Regions from separate parts of the Homo sapiens genome. Here region 2 is linked to region 1. The links are contacts of gene promoters, found by promoter capture Hi-C in blood cells and fetal thymus (Javierre and others, 2016). All regions are on one chromosome and are shown on one strand. The core of a region is centred on a gene start or on the middle of the fragment in contact, and the rest is flanking DNA. Distances in the headings are between cores, read along the strand shown. Region 1 holds the start of SRSF12 (serine and arginine rich splicing factor 12). Region 2 overlaps RRAGD (Ras related GTP binding D).

What was found. Contacts are between HindIII fragments. The CHiCAGO score rates a contact against its expected background, and 5 or more counts as called.
Region 2: a contact is called between a fragment that was not itself captured here and the fragment with the promoter of SRSF12 in region 1, in 1 of 17 cell types (naive CD8 T cells). The highest score is 5.4, in naive CD8 T cells.

Annotation. Positions count from the first base shown.
Region 1 is chr6:89,115,752-89,121,738 of GRCh38, forward strand. It overlaps SRSF12 (serine and arginine rich splicing factor 12), which reads right to left and starts at 2,320. Exons shown (of 5, transcript NM_080743.5): 1 at 2,072-2,320. The coding sequence starts at 2,136. It also overlaps a transcript of PM20D2 not described here. RefSeq lists a silencer at 1,904-2,173. The HindIII fragment of the contact is 10,924 bases long and covers 1-3,780 here.
Region 2 is chr6:89,372,457-89,378,443 of GRCh38, forward strand. It overlaps RRAGD (Ras related GTP binding D), which reads right to left. Exons shown (of 7, transcript NM_021244.5): 5 at 5,215-5,357; 6 at 1-129. Among named protein-coding and RNA genes, the nearest start is that of UBE2J1, 23 kb to the left of the region's middle. RefSeq lists enhancers at 1-57, 428-547, 2,641-3,141, 3,142-3,642. The HindIII fragment of the contact is 2,379 bases long and covers 1,661-4,039 here.

The DNA.
Region 1 (5,987 bases), core at 1,070-3,569:
TCAGCCTCCTGAGCAGCTGGGACTACAGGCACCCGCCACCACGCCCGTCTAATTTTTTTATTTTTAGTAGAGACGGGGTTTCATCGTGCTAGCCAGGATGGTTTCCATCTCCTGACCTCGTGATCCGCCTGCCTCAGCCTCCCAAAGTGCTGTGATTACAGGCATGAGCCACCGCACCCGGCCACGAATGGGATTTTCATATGATTCAACTTAATGCATCTAAAGACTAAGATTACACATACAAAATCCAGATTTCTGATTTCTCTTTACAACTAGTAAGATATATCAACAATAAGTCCAGATGTCTACATGGCAGCTGTCAGCTGGAGCCTAGAGGCAGATGCTGCACCTTTTAGATGGCATATTTCCTTTTCTATTTGCTATTCTATTTCTATTTGATAGTCCACACCATCCTACTGTGCCTTATAGGCTGGCAGCTTCACTCGTTTATATTACCCCGGCTGGCCCCTGTGAACCATTAGAATTGGAAACCTCTGATTTTTCTACAGACACCCTGAAGAGGCTTGATGCTTATTCCATTTTCAAGTTGTCTGTTCAACTGCAAGGTTTTTTAATTCTGCCCAAATCATAAATTATGTTCGTGTTTTCTATGTAATATATTGATAAAAAGGCTGACAGAAGAAATGTAAACAAGGCACCTTTTAGATGTTAACTAAGATATATTAACCACAACATATAGTTGTGATACATGTACTTGCGGTGATCAAATAAAAAATACTTGGCCGGGCACGGTGGCTCATGCCTGTAATCTCAGCGCTTTGGGAGGCCGAGCTGGGCGGATCACTTGAGGTCAGGAGTTGGAGATCAGCCTGGCCAACATAATGAAACCTCATCTCTACTAAAAATATAAAAATTAGCCGGGTGTGGTGGCACACGCCTGTAATCCCATCTACTTTGGATGCTGAGGCAGGAGAATCGCTTGAACCCGGGAGGCAGAGGTTGCAGCCAACCAAGATCGGGCCATTGTACTCCAGCCTGGGGGACAAGAGCGAGACTTTGTCTAAAAAAAAAAAAAAAACTAAAAAATAAAAAATACTTAACGTTTATTTACTCCTCAAAGGTAAATTATAATACTCATCTCAGATGACTATGGAGTCAAGAGCTCCATGTATCTATACCTCTCTGGCCCCAGGTAAATCATTAAAACTCTTAGTTTCCGCTCTCCCTTATGTACAATAAAACAGTACTGCATAGGTAGAAAGGCTGGGGGGAAGTAAATGAAGCCCAGTGAAATGAGAATGTCTATTAACACCGTTCCCTCTCCCCCCGCCCCCAATTTCTTCAGCTCCATTAAGGAAGGAAGTGCTATATGAAAAAGTCATTCCTTAGTATCTGTGTTCAGACACTCTGTAGACAAAATTCTCAACGGAGGGGTGGGGCATCAGAATCAACCAGGTGAGCCTATACTCACGCCCTTAAAAAGGGTGTTAATACTGGACTCAGAACTTTAAAGAAAAACGCACTGATCTCATTCATTGAAGTTATTTTTTGTATGCAGAATAAAATTGTGTGAATAAAATGCAAGCAGCACCGTCTGTAAGTAGACCAGAACTGGGGGAAAGAAACTGTAAGGCCCGAGTACGCATTATGGTACAAAACGTTCTCACCAGCCCCAATTCCTCTCCATCTAGGAGGGTTGGATGCGCGCGATTTTATCGGGGCACGGCGACAAAGGAGCTGAAACGCGGGCACTCGCTGGAGCGCAAACCCTCCCGACTCCCGGCGGGGAGCGACCTGAGCTCGGGAGAGGGGCGCCCCGTGTCCCACGGCCCGCCGGCTGCGGTGCTGAACCGCGGAAAGCGACGCGGGCCCGGGACACGATGTGCGCGGCGCCGGGGCTGAAAGCTGGCCGGGAGGGCGGAGGCGCGAGTTCCGCCCTGGGCCGCGGAGTAGTCCGAGGGCTCACACCTCCCCAAGTGGCGCAGCCTGGGCCCGCGGGGAGGCTCCGCGCAGCTCCCCCGAGCCTCCGCCGGGCCTCGGCCGTGCTCCGCGGCGCGGCTGTTACCCCGCCCCTCCTCCGCGCCCCCAACCTGCAGCCGCGGCCGTTCACCTGGTGGCGTCCGCGACGTTCCTGATGAACAGGGAGGTGTTGGGGGGCCTCGTGTAGCGAGACATGACCGCTTCCTCCGTTCCCTCCGGGTCTGCCCGCGGCCGCTGGACTCGCTCCGTCTCCCGCTACCGCTGCTACCACCACAGGAGCTCCGCCGGCCCCCGGCGCGACCCCCACCCCTCGGCCTCAGCCCCGCCAGCGCGCAGCCGCAGAGGCCGGCGCAGAGGGGGCGCAGCGCGGCGCCAGCCTGGACGCACGGGCCGGGGGCGGGGGCGGCGCCGGCGCGGCCCAGGGGCCGCGGGAATTCCGAAGACAGGAGCGCGGCCGTTCCCAGGCCCTATGGGATCCGGGTATGGGGGGTCCTGGAGTGCGACGGGATTTGGGGAGGGGGCGGCGAGGGCCAGTGTATGTCAGGAGGGCGGAGGCCAAGAGGGGGCTTGAGGCCGCGGCGGGGACGCCGGGGGTTAGAGGACCCAGAGGTGGTGGCGGGGCTGCGGCTGGGCGGAGGTGGGGTCAGTGAGAGCCGCTTTCAACCGCGCCCCCGCTCAGCCTCCGCGGCCCTCAGCGCATCGTCCTGAGCGCAGGACCTTGGCAGTTGGTAGGCCTCCTGCCCCTCTGGTCTTGAGCCTTCGGCTTTCCAACTGTGAGGTCTCGGTTTTGTTCGGATTTGTTTTTTTAATAGAGACGGGGTCTCGCTGTGTTGCCCAGGTGGTCTCAAACTCCTGGGCTCAAGCCTCTCCCGCCTCGGCCTTCCAAAGTGCTGGGATTACAGGTGTGAGCCACCGCGCCTGGCCTGTTGGATTTTTAAGTATTATATGATTCTTCATCCTTTATTCACTTGGGGCATAACACTCAGCTGTGAGTACATTCATTCAGATGTTTATTGAGCGTCTACTATGCGCCAGGCACTTAGCGTGGGATATAGCAATGAACAAACAGGCCAAGCCCCGCCCTCTGAGCTTACATTCTAGAGGGGGGACAAACGAATGTACAAATGAATACATGATGTAGAAGACAACAGTTTAAATGCAGGGACAGTTAAGCAAAATTTAAATTACCCTCTCCCTATTCCCCCAAAATGTTGTAGCCCATCCCCTTCTAGTTAGACTCGTCTTCGCCTTGCTCCTGTGGCCGGCAGGCACAGCCTGTTATTCAGGGCTGGGAGTGTAACCAGGCAACTCCTAAGTGTGAAGAGTGCCCCTTTTCGCTCGCAGAAGTGGTAGGCTTTGAAGAATACATGTCGTGGTCACCCTTCTAGCTCACAGCCCTCCCAGAGGCTGTGGAGGTTCCTGGGTCTGCAGCTGTACTGGAACGGTGGCTATTCTTTCATTCAGAAGGGATTGCTCTGGCACTGCAGGCACAGGGCTAGACTGGCACCGTGCCTATTCCCCTAGAGCTTAGAATTTGGTAGGGAGGCAGAATCTAACAATCACACTGGTAAAGATACAAACTATAATACAGGGCTATGAAAAGAACTATATGCTGCTGAGAGCAGGCATTGTGGGATGGTGAGCAAGGCTAGAGGGTCACTTATGTTCCCTGAACAAGTCTTGAAGAGATGGGTAAAGAATGGAGAAGAGTAATTAGTGCAGTGGAACAGCACGTGCAAAGGCTTTGAGGCAATATAGTAAATGAGGCAAAACAGGAGCATGAGGCTGGAGAAGAGTTGGAAAATGAGGCTGGAGAGCAGGCTGGATTCATAATACAAAAGCTTAGAATGCTTACCATGTGTTAGTTGGCTAGGGCTGCCATGACAAAGCACCACAGATTTGGTGGCCCGAAACAACAGAAATTTATTCTCTTGTAGTTCAGAGGCCAGAAGTCTGAAATCCAGGTGTCCGCAGGGCCATCATCTATCTGAAGGCACTCTAGGGGAATCCTCTGTTTCTTCCAGTCTTTGGTGGCCCCACACATGTTTTGGCTGTGGATACATAGATCCAGTCTCCACTTCTGTCTTCACATGGCCTCCTGTCTTTCTCTCTCTCTTTCTCTGTCTCTCTCTCTTTTTATTTTAGATGGAGTCTATGTTGCCTAGGCTGATTTCAAACTCTTAGGCTCAAGTGATCCTCCTGCCTTGGCCTCCCAAAGTTGAGATTACAGGTGTGAGCCACTGTATTAGTCCGTTTTCACACTGCTGATAAAGACATACCCAAGACTGGGGAGGCCTCACAATCATGGTGTAGGGCAAAAGGCACATCTTACATGGTGGCAGACAGAGAATGAGAGCCAAGCGAAAGGGGTTTCCCCTTATAAAACCATCAGATCTCGTGAGACTTATTCACTACCAGGAGAACAGTATGGGGAACTGCCCCCATGATTCAGTTATCTCCCTCTAGGTCCCTCCCACAATACGTGGGAATTATGGGAGCTAACAATTCAAGATGAAATTTGGGTGGGGACAGAGCCAAATGATATCAGCCATCTATCCTATCCAGTTCTATCTCTTATAAGGACATTTGTCGTTGGATTTAGGGCCCACTTGGTTAATTCAGAATGATCTCATCTTGAAATCCTCACTTACATCTGCAAAGATTCTTTTTCCAGATAAGGATACATACCTGGAGATAGGACTTGGACATGTATTTTTGGGGGCCGCCATTCAAACCACTACATTGACTTTGCAAATAAAAAACTTGACCAAAGAAAAGAAACTTGACCTGGTGGGTAGTCACAATTACTCATCCCTGACATACTGTTAAGTGGAGAAAAATCAATTCATGAGACATGTAAACGATTAACCTATTTAGTTAAAAATATATTGGCCAGGCGTGGTGACTCATGCCTGTATCCTGGTGCTGTGGGAGGCCAAGTTGGGAAGATTGCTCCAAGCTAGAAGTTCGTGACCAGCTGGGCAACATAAGAGAATCTCCCCATCTCTACAGAAAATTAAAAAAAAAAAAATTAGCCAACCATGGTGGCACATGCTTGTAGTCCTAGCTGCTCAGGTGGCTGAGGCAAGAGGATTGCTTGAGCCCAGGAGTTGGAGGCTGCAGTGAACTATGTTTGTGCCAGTGCACTGCATTCCAGCATGAGTGACAGAGCAAGACCCTGTCTGTAAATAAATAAATAAATTTATCTGTATGTTCATGTATAAATAGAATTTTTCTATTCTATTTTTACCTATTCAGGTATAGGTATTATACTCTGATACTTGCTTTCTTCTTATCTTTTAGTATTGTCAGATTTTTTTAATGCTTTTTATAAATATAGAAAAAAACCACAAAGCTCTTTACAGTTTGAAAAAAGCTTTTGTAGGAGTATCCAAAAATACTTAGCATGCATGTATGGATAGGGGGTGTTTTTTCTGTTCCTTTTGATGGAAATACCTGAGGAAAGGGTCTTCAACTGTGTAAGGAGTTTCTCTTAGCAACTTGAACTTAAAAGGTAGCTGGAATTGATATAAAATAAGTTGTGGAGCCATAATTATTTATATTACATAAAAACGTATGTTCTTTTTTCCAGATATGATTTGAGGCAGCTAGTGTAAAGTGTAAGAAAGCTGTTTTCTGGTTGGAAGGCCTAAGGAGAGAACATCGTCGGGCACGGCCAACTAAGGAATGTTACAGTCAGCTTGGCCAGTGTCTTGCCCTGGTCCTTAAACCAGTTGAGATGAGTAACTGATGAAGCTGTATTTTGTCTTCCCTTTGGCAGATTAGGATACTTGAAGAGGTAGGGGAAAGGCTTAGGTCAAGAGTAAACACCCTGCCTGTCCCTGGACTCATAAACATATTCATATTTACCCTTTGTTCTAGAACTTAAGTGCCATTTAACAAAAGTATTGCTTTATTGAATCATTGCTTTAAGGCACCAAATGGTACCCTCCAGGCTTAGGAGAGTTAATGTTTTTCTTAAATTGCCTGAGGATTCCCAAGGAGTATACCACTGGCAAATCTGACAACTGTTCCCATAACAAAAG
Region 2 (5,987 bases), core at 1,600-4,099, 260 kb after region 1:
TCTCTGACAAAGCAAACGAGAGCCAGGAACTTTGTCACCTCTTTTAAATAAAGCACGGTTGTATTATTAAGCTTTATGATGGCTGTGGATTCCTTGTCATAGGGGGTTCCTGCTCCATCTTCTTTGAGACTAAATGGGGACAGAAACCAAAACATGTGACCATTGAGAAAGAACTAGAAACTGTAAGCCAGTGACAAGAGACCGGCTTTAAGCCACAAAAAGTGATAATCATAAGTTGTTTACACTTGCAGTGCCTTTCAGCAAAAGAGCTCAGAAACACACAGGCACAAAAACATACACAGTCCTCAACAGTCATTTCCTACTGACAATGAGTGGCTGTCTGCAGCAGCTGGGACACTCTCCAGGCACCTGAAGAAGCCAGTTGAAGGATGAGGTTAGCTCTCCCCACCTCCGTGGCCAAGGGCTTCTTGTTTTCTCACCTAGAATAGCCAGGCTGTCAAAAGCGTGGTCTGATGAAAGACTAAGAAAGGCTGAAGATATGTTCCAAATTCAAGGAGTCTAAAGAGACCTGAAAGCCAAGTGCTAGACTGGATCCTGAATTGGGAAAAACTGCTATAAAAGATAGAATTGGGACCACTGGTAAAATCTGAATATCGTCTATATATTAGATAATAATGTAGCCATGCTAAATTTGCTGAACTGTGAACTGGTTCAATTTACTCTCAAATGGTTCACTGAAAAGAAATAGATACACAATATGTATTAGAAAAAGAGAGATGCAGCAAATATGGCAAATTGGTAAAAACTGATGAATCCCAGTGAAGAGTTATACAGGAGTTCATTTTACTACCCTTGTATATTTTCTGTAGGTTTTAACTTTTTTTCAAAATAAAGAGTTAAATAAGATATATAGGTCTATTTGGCCAGGCGCAGTGGCTCACGCCTGTAATCCTAGCACTTGGGAGACAGGTAGATCACGAGGTCATGAGTTCAAGACCAGCCTGGCCAATATGGGTGAAACCCCATCTCTACTAAAAATACAAAAATTAGACAGGCACCACGTGGTGGCGCACACCTGTAGTCCCAGCTACTCGGGAGGCTGAGGCAGAAGAATCCCTTGAACCCAGGAGGCAGACGTTGCCGTGAGCCGAGATTGTGCCACTGTACTCTAGCCTGGGTGACAGAGCAGGACTCCGTCTCAAAAAAAAAAAAAAAAAAAGATATATAGGTCTATTTAAGAAAAGGTGTGGTGTGCAGACACAAGTGACTTGGGTTTGAATCTCATTTCTTTTATTTGCTAGCTATGTGAGCTTGGACAAGTCGAATAACTTCTTTGAGCCTCAATTTCCTCATATGTACACTAACAGTAATTATTTCAAAGTTTTCTAATGAAGATTAAATGAAATAATGCATATGTAGCACTAAGCATAATGCTGAGAACATAAAATACACACTTATTATCATGGCTTTAATGACTGAAACTGGACCCTCTGAAGATACCTGTGTAATAAAAGTGTTATGAATCCTTTCCTCACAGGCAAAGGACACTTCCCTAAACCTTTTCCCCCTTACCTAAAACTGTACATAAATTTTCTGATTTATTTTTACTCCCCAAATTTATGAATAACTGACCAGAAATTTGACTTAATTGGAATTGTGTTAAACCTTACCACATTCACTGAGAACTAGCATTTATTAAAGCTTACTATGTGATATTAACCATTCTTAGTTCTTAAAATGCATTATCCTCTGTCTGCTATAAGAATCCTCTAAGTTTCTAAGGAAACTGAGGCTAGGGGAAAATAAGATAACTTGGTCAAAGCTGACGATAGGGGTAAAGTCAGGACCTCAAACCTAGATATGGCTAATTTCAAAGTTAATGCTTTAATCCTGTAAATACACAAGGGGGTACAGTATCAAGCCAGATTTAATGAAAAGCCTGAATTGCACAAGAGTATTTTTAGGAAATGTAGGTTTTTAGTTTTGAGAGTATTTTAAGCTGCCATATACATGGCCACTTAAAAGTAAATTGTGAGGGTGGGCACGGTGGCTCAGGCCTATAATCCCAGCACTTTGGGAGGCCGAGGTGGATCGCCTGAGGTTGGGAGTTCGAGAACAGCCTGACCAACATGGAGAAACTCCGTCTCTACTAAAAATACAAAATTAGCTAGGCGTGGTAGTGCATGCCTGTAATCCCAGCTACTCGGGAGGCTGAGGGAGGAGAATCACTTGAACCCGGGAGGCGGGGGTTGCAGTGAGCCGAGATCATGCCATTGCACTCCAGCCTGGGCAACAAGAGCGAAACTCCATCTCAAAAAAAAAAAAAGTAAATTGTGGAAGTTCGTATTTTTTGTTTTTTTTAAAGGATTCAACTCACTATAACCTACCAAAACATTAAAGAAAAACCTTTTAAGTGCTGGACATCAAATGTTAAAGATGCTTTAACAGAATTCATTAACTTCCATTGCACTGTTTTAACTACTATATTTTAAGGCTCAATCTCTCTTGCTTATAAGTAATGTTCTGAGAACAAGAAACTGAAACATTTAACATGTTTTACCCAATGAAGAAAATAGCATTTAAAATTTCCAAGTAAATATAATACTATATAGATATTAAACACTGTTTATTAACAGCATTTAATAATACAGGAAAATTATCAGGTGGTAATGTTAAATGAAAAAAGCAGGATGAAAAATTTCACATACAAATGTGATCTCATTATCCTAAAAATTACACATGGAAATAAGAACAAACTATATAAAATGTAAACACTGACTGTCTCTAGGTGGTGAGATTATGGGCTACTTTAATTTTATTCTTTAGACTTTTATGTATTTTCTGCAATAAGCATGTATTACTTTCACAATCAGAAAAAGGTAAACATTAAACAAATTAGAAAAACAGACTCCACCAAAAATTACAAGTAGAAATTGATGAGGTTTGCAACTGCAAAAACTGTTTTACTACTCAAGTTTTTCATCTATAAGCAATGAAAACACATGAAGATAGAACATATTTTAAAGTGTGTGCATGTGTGTGTGCATATATGTGCGTGTGCATGTGTGTGCATGAGTGAGCACAGAGCTGCCAGCTGGGGCACAGCCTCAGCTGAGAGATTCCTGAGGCACCAGGTCACCTGATTCTAGGGCCTGCTGGTCTCCACTGGGCAGGTGGGGAGGGGCAGCAAGGCCTCCAGTTACAAGGGCACCTGCTTCCTCATTGCCTAAGAGGGCCCCAGGCTCTGCACACAACCCTGCCTCCTGCTGGTTAACAGGACTGGCTTGTTGCTGCTCCAGCAAACAATCTGAGGAAACCCCAGAGCCCACAAACCATCTGTGACCCAGACTGGTTCTTACTGAATCCTGTGGGTTCTCAGAACACTGTACTCCACCACAGAAAAACCAATCTGACGGCAAAGCCAGGCCACCTCCTCCTAACCCCTCCCTCCCCATGTTTGTTTTAGCTGGGTAAAAGTAACTCTGATTAACATCATTTACATGAACAACTTACCACTTACAGCTAATGACCATATGGCACAATAATGATCATGCACATTGTTAAGCATGTGCCAGATTAATTGTGTTGTTCATTGTACTTGATTACCATGGCAATCTGCACTGTAATCAGGGTGCGTTCATCTTCCATGACTATTTCAAGGTCATCCATTTAAACGGTTTAAAAATAATAGAATGCTTCAGGGCAGTAATCTTGGGCAATAAGGTTTATTTCTAAAGCCAGATGTCAGCGTTTAATTATAACAGTAATAATAAATTATGGCAGCTACATTTATCCAGAGTCTACCAGGTAAAGGCACGTTATGAGCCTAATGATATTTCATCCTCAATACAATCTTGTAAGTATCACTTTCCATGTGTGTGTGGTGTGTGTGTGTGTGTGTGTGTGTGTGTGTGTGTGTGTCTAACAGTTAACAGAGAGAATCCGAGCTGAGTGGGCAAAGGATTTTTAAGCAATGGAAGAGAAAAATGGAGACTAGACTCTCACAAAAGCTGAAAGGCAGAGCGTCAAGCTGTGTAAGGCAGGTCACAGGCAGTGAGTAAAGAGGAAGATGAGCAAAAGCTTTACCTCATCGATTAGATGAGGATGTCAGATACAATACAGATAGCAACACCTTAACATCTTAATAAGATGAACAACTAGTTCACACCTAGTCAGTCTGTACACCACCTGTTCAGCACATTTATAATTATGTAGAATTGTTTCTACATCGGGTAACATAATCAGTTTCCCCCACTCCTTGTTTATTTTATATTAAGTGTATAGGAAGCTCTGTTTTCTAAGAACGGTATGTTAACAGATTTTTTTCAGCAGAGGATCAGGAATCAGATCTGAGTTGAAACTCCAGTTCCAATCCTTACTGATAGTGTGAGCAAGAGTAAGAAATGTAACCACTCTGAACCTCAGTTTTTTCATCTGTAAAGTGAATACACTACAGTTGACCTTAAACAACACAGATTTGAACTGCCTAGGTCCACTTATACATGGATTTTCTTCCGCTTCTGCCACTCCTAAGACAGCAAAATCAACCCCTTCTCTTCCTCCTCCTCAGCCTACTCAATGTGAAGACAATGAGGGTAAAGACCTTTATGATGACCCACTTCCATTTAATAAATAGTAAATATATTCTTTCTTATAATTTCTTCTCTGTAGCTCACTTTATTGTTAAGAATACAGTGCGTAATACATAACATACAAAATGTGTGTTAATCAATCATTCATGTTATTGGTAAGGCTTCCAGTCAACAGTAGACTATTAGTATTAATAGTTAAGTTTGTCAGGGGGGAAATATATGTGGCTTTTTGACTGTTCAAAGGGTTGGTACCCCAACCCCTGTGTTGTTCAAGGGTCAAATGTAATTCCTGCCACATCGAATAGTTGAGAATTAAATGATAACCTGGGCACAGTGGCTCATGCCTATAATCCCAGCTACTCGAGAGGCTGAGGTGAGAGGATCATTTGAGCCCAGGAGTGATCTATCCTGGACAACACAGGGACACCCTATTGCTAAAAAATTGAAATAAATAATAGGAAGCATGCAATGAGATTAGCATAATGCGTGGCATTTGCTCAATAACTGTTATTATTGCATGCTAACTGGTATATTTATTTATAGATTTCAGTCATTTAAGACAAAAATGTTAAAGTTAAGTAAGTAAATGTAAATGCAAAATGCCTGAAAGGTTATGAAGGAAGGATGGCTTGATTGTGGCCTTTAAGAATGTTGTACTTACCCATAAATACAAGAGATGTCAATAACCACATCTATCATATCACAGCAGAGCTCATAGGTTTGCATATCCACCGGAGTACTATCAGTTGCAATATAAATTTTACTGACCACATCAAATAGAAATGCCTTTTCAATTCCAGAATTCTGAAATTTAAAAAAAAAAGTTGCCTTAAAGCAACAGTCAACTTCAGACCATGTCATGACTACACAAAATTGAATGCCATTCTTAATGTAAAATACAAAATGAGCAAAACTCGCTACTAAAAATTTAAATTGTATCATTTTATTACAATTTAAACTTCACTGTCATAAACTTCTCTATACTGGACTTGCATAAGAAATAAAAAGTAGAGGCCGGGCATGGTGGCTCACGCCTGTAATCCCAGCACTTTGGGAGGCCAAGGCGGGCAGATCACCTGAGGCCAGGAGTTCGAAACCAGCCTGACCAACCGGGAGAAACCTGTCTCTACTAAAAATACAAAATTAGCCAGGCGTGGTGGTGCATGCCTGTAATCCCAGCTACTCGGGAGGCTGAGGAAGGAGAACTGCTTGAACCCAGGAGGCGGAGGTAGCGGTGAGCCGAGATGGCGCCATTGCACTCCAGCCTGGGCAACAAGAGCAAAACTCCGTCTCAAAAAAAAAAAAAGAATTCGAATGACCACAAATTATTTATTTTAGGTAACCAAATTGAGCAATATTTCCTAACTCGTAGAGATACATACCTGCAATTAGGAAAAGGCCAAGTAAAAATACTTTTACTGACTGTAAATTTTA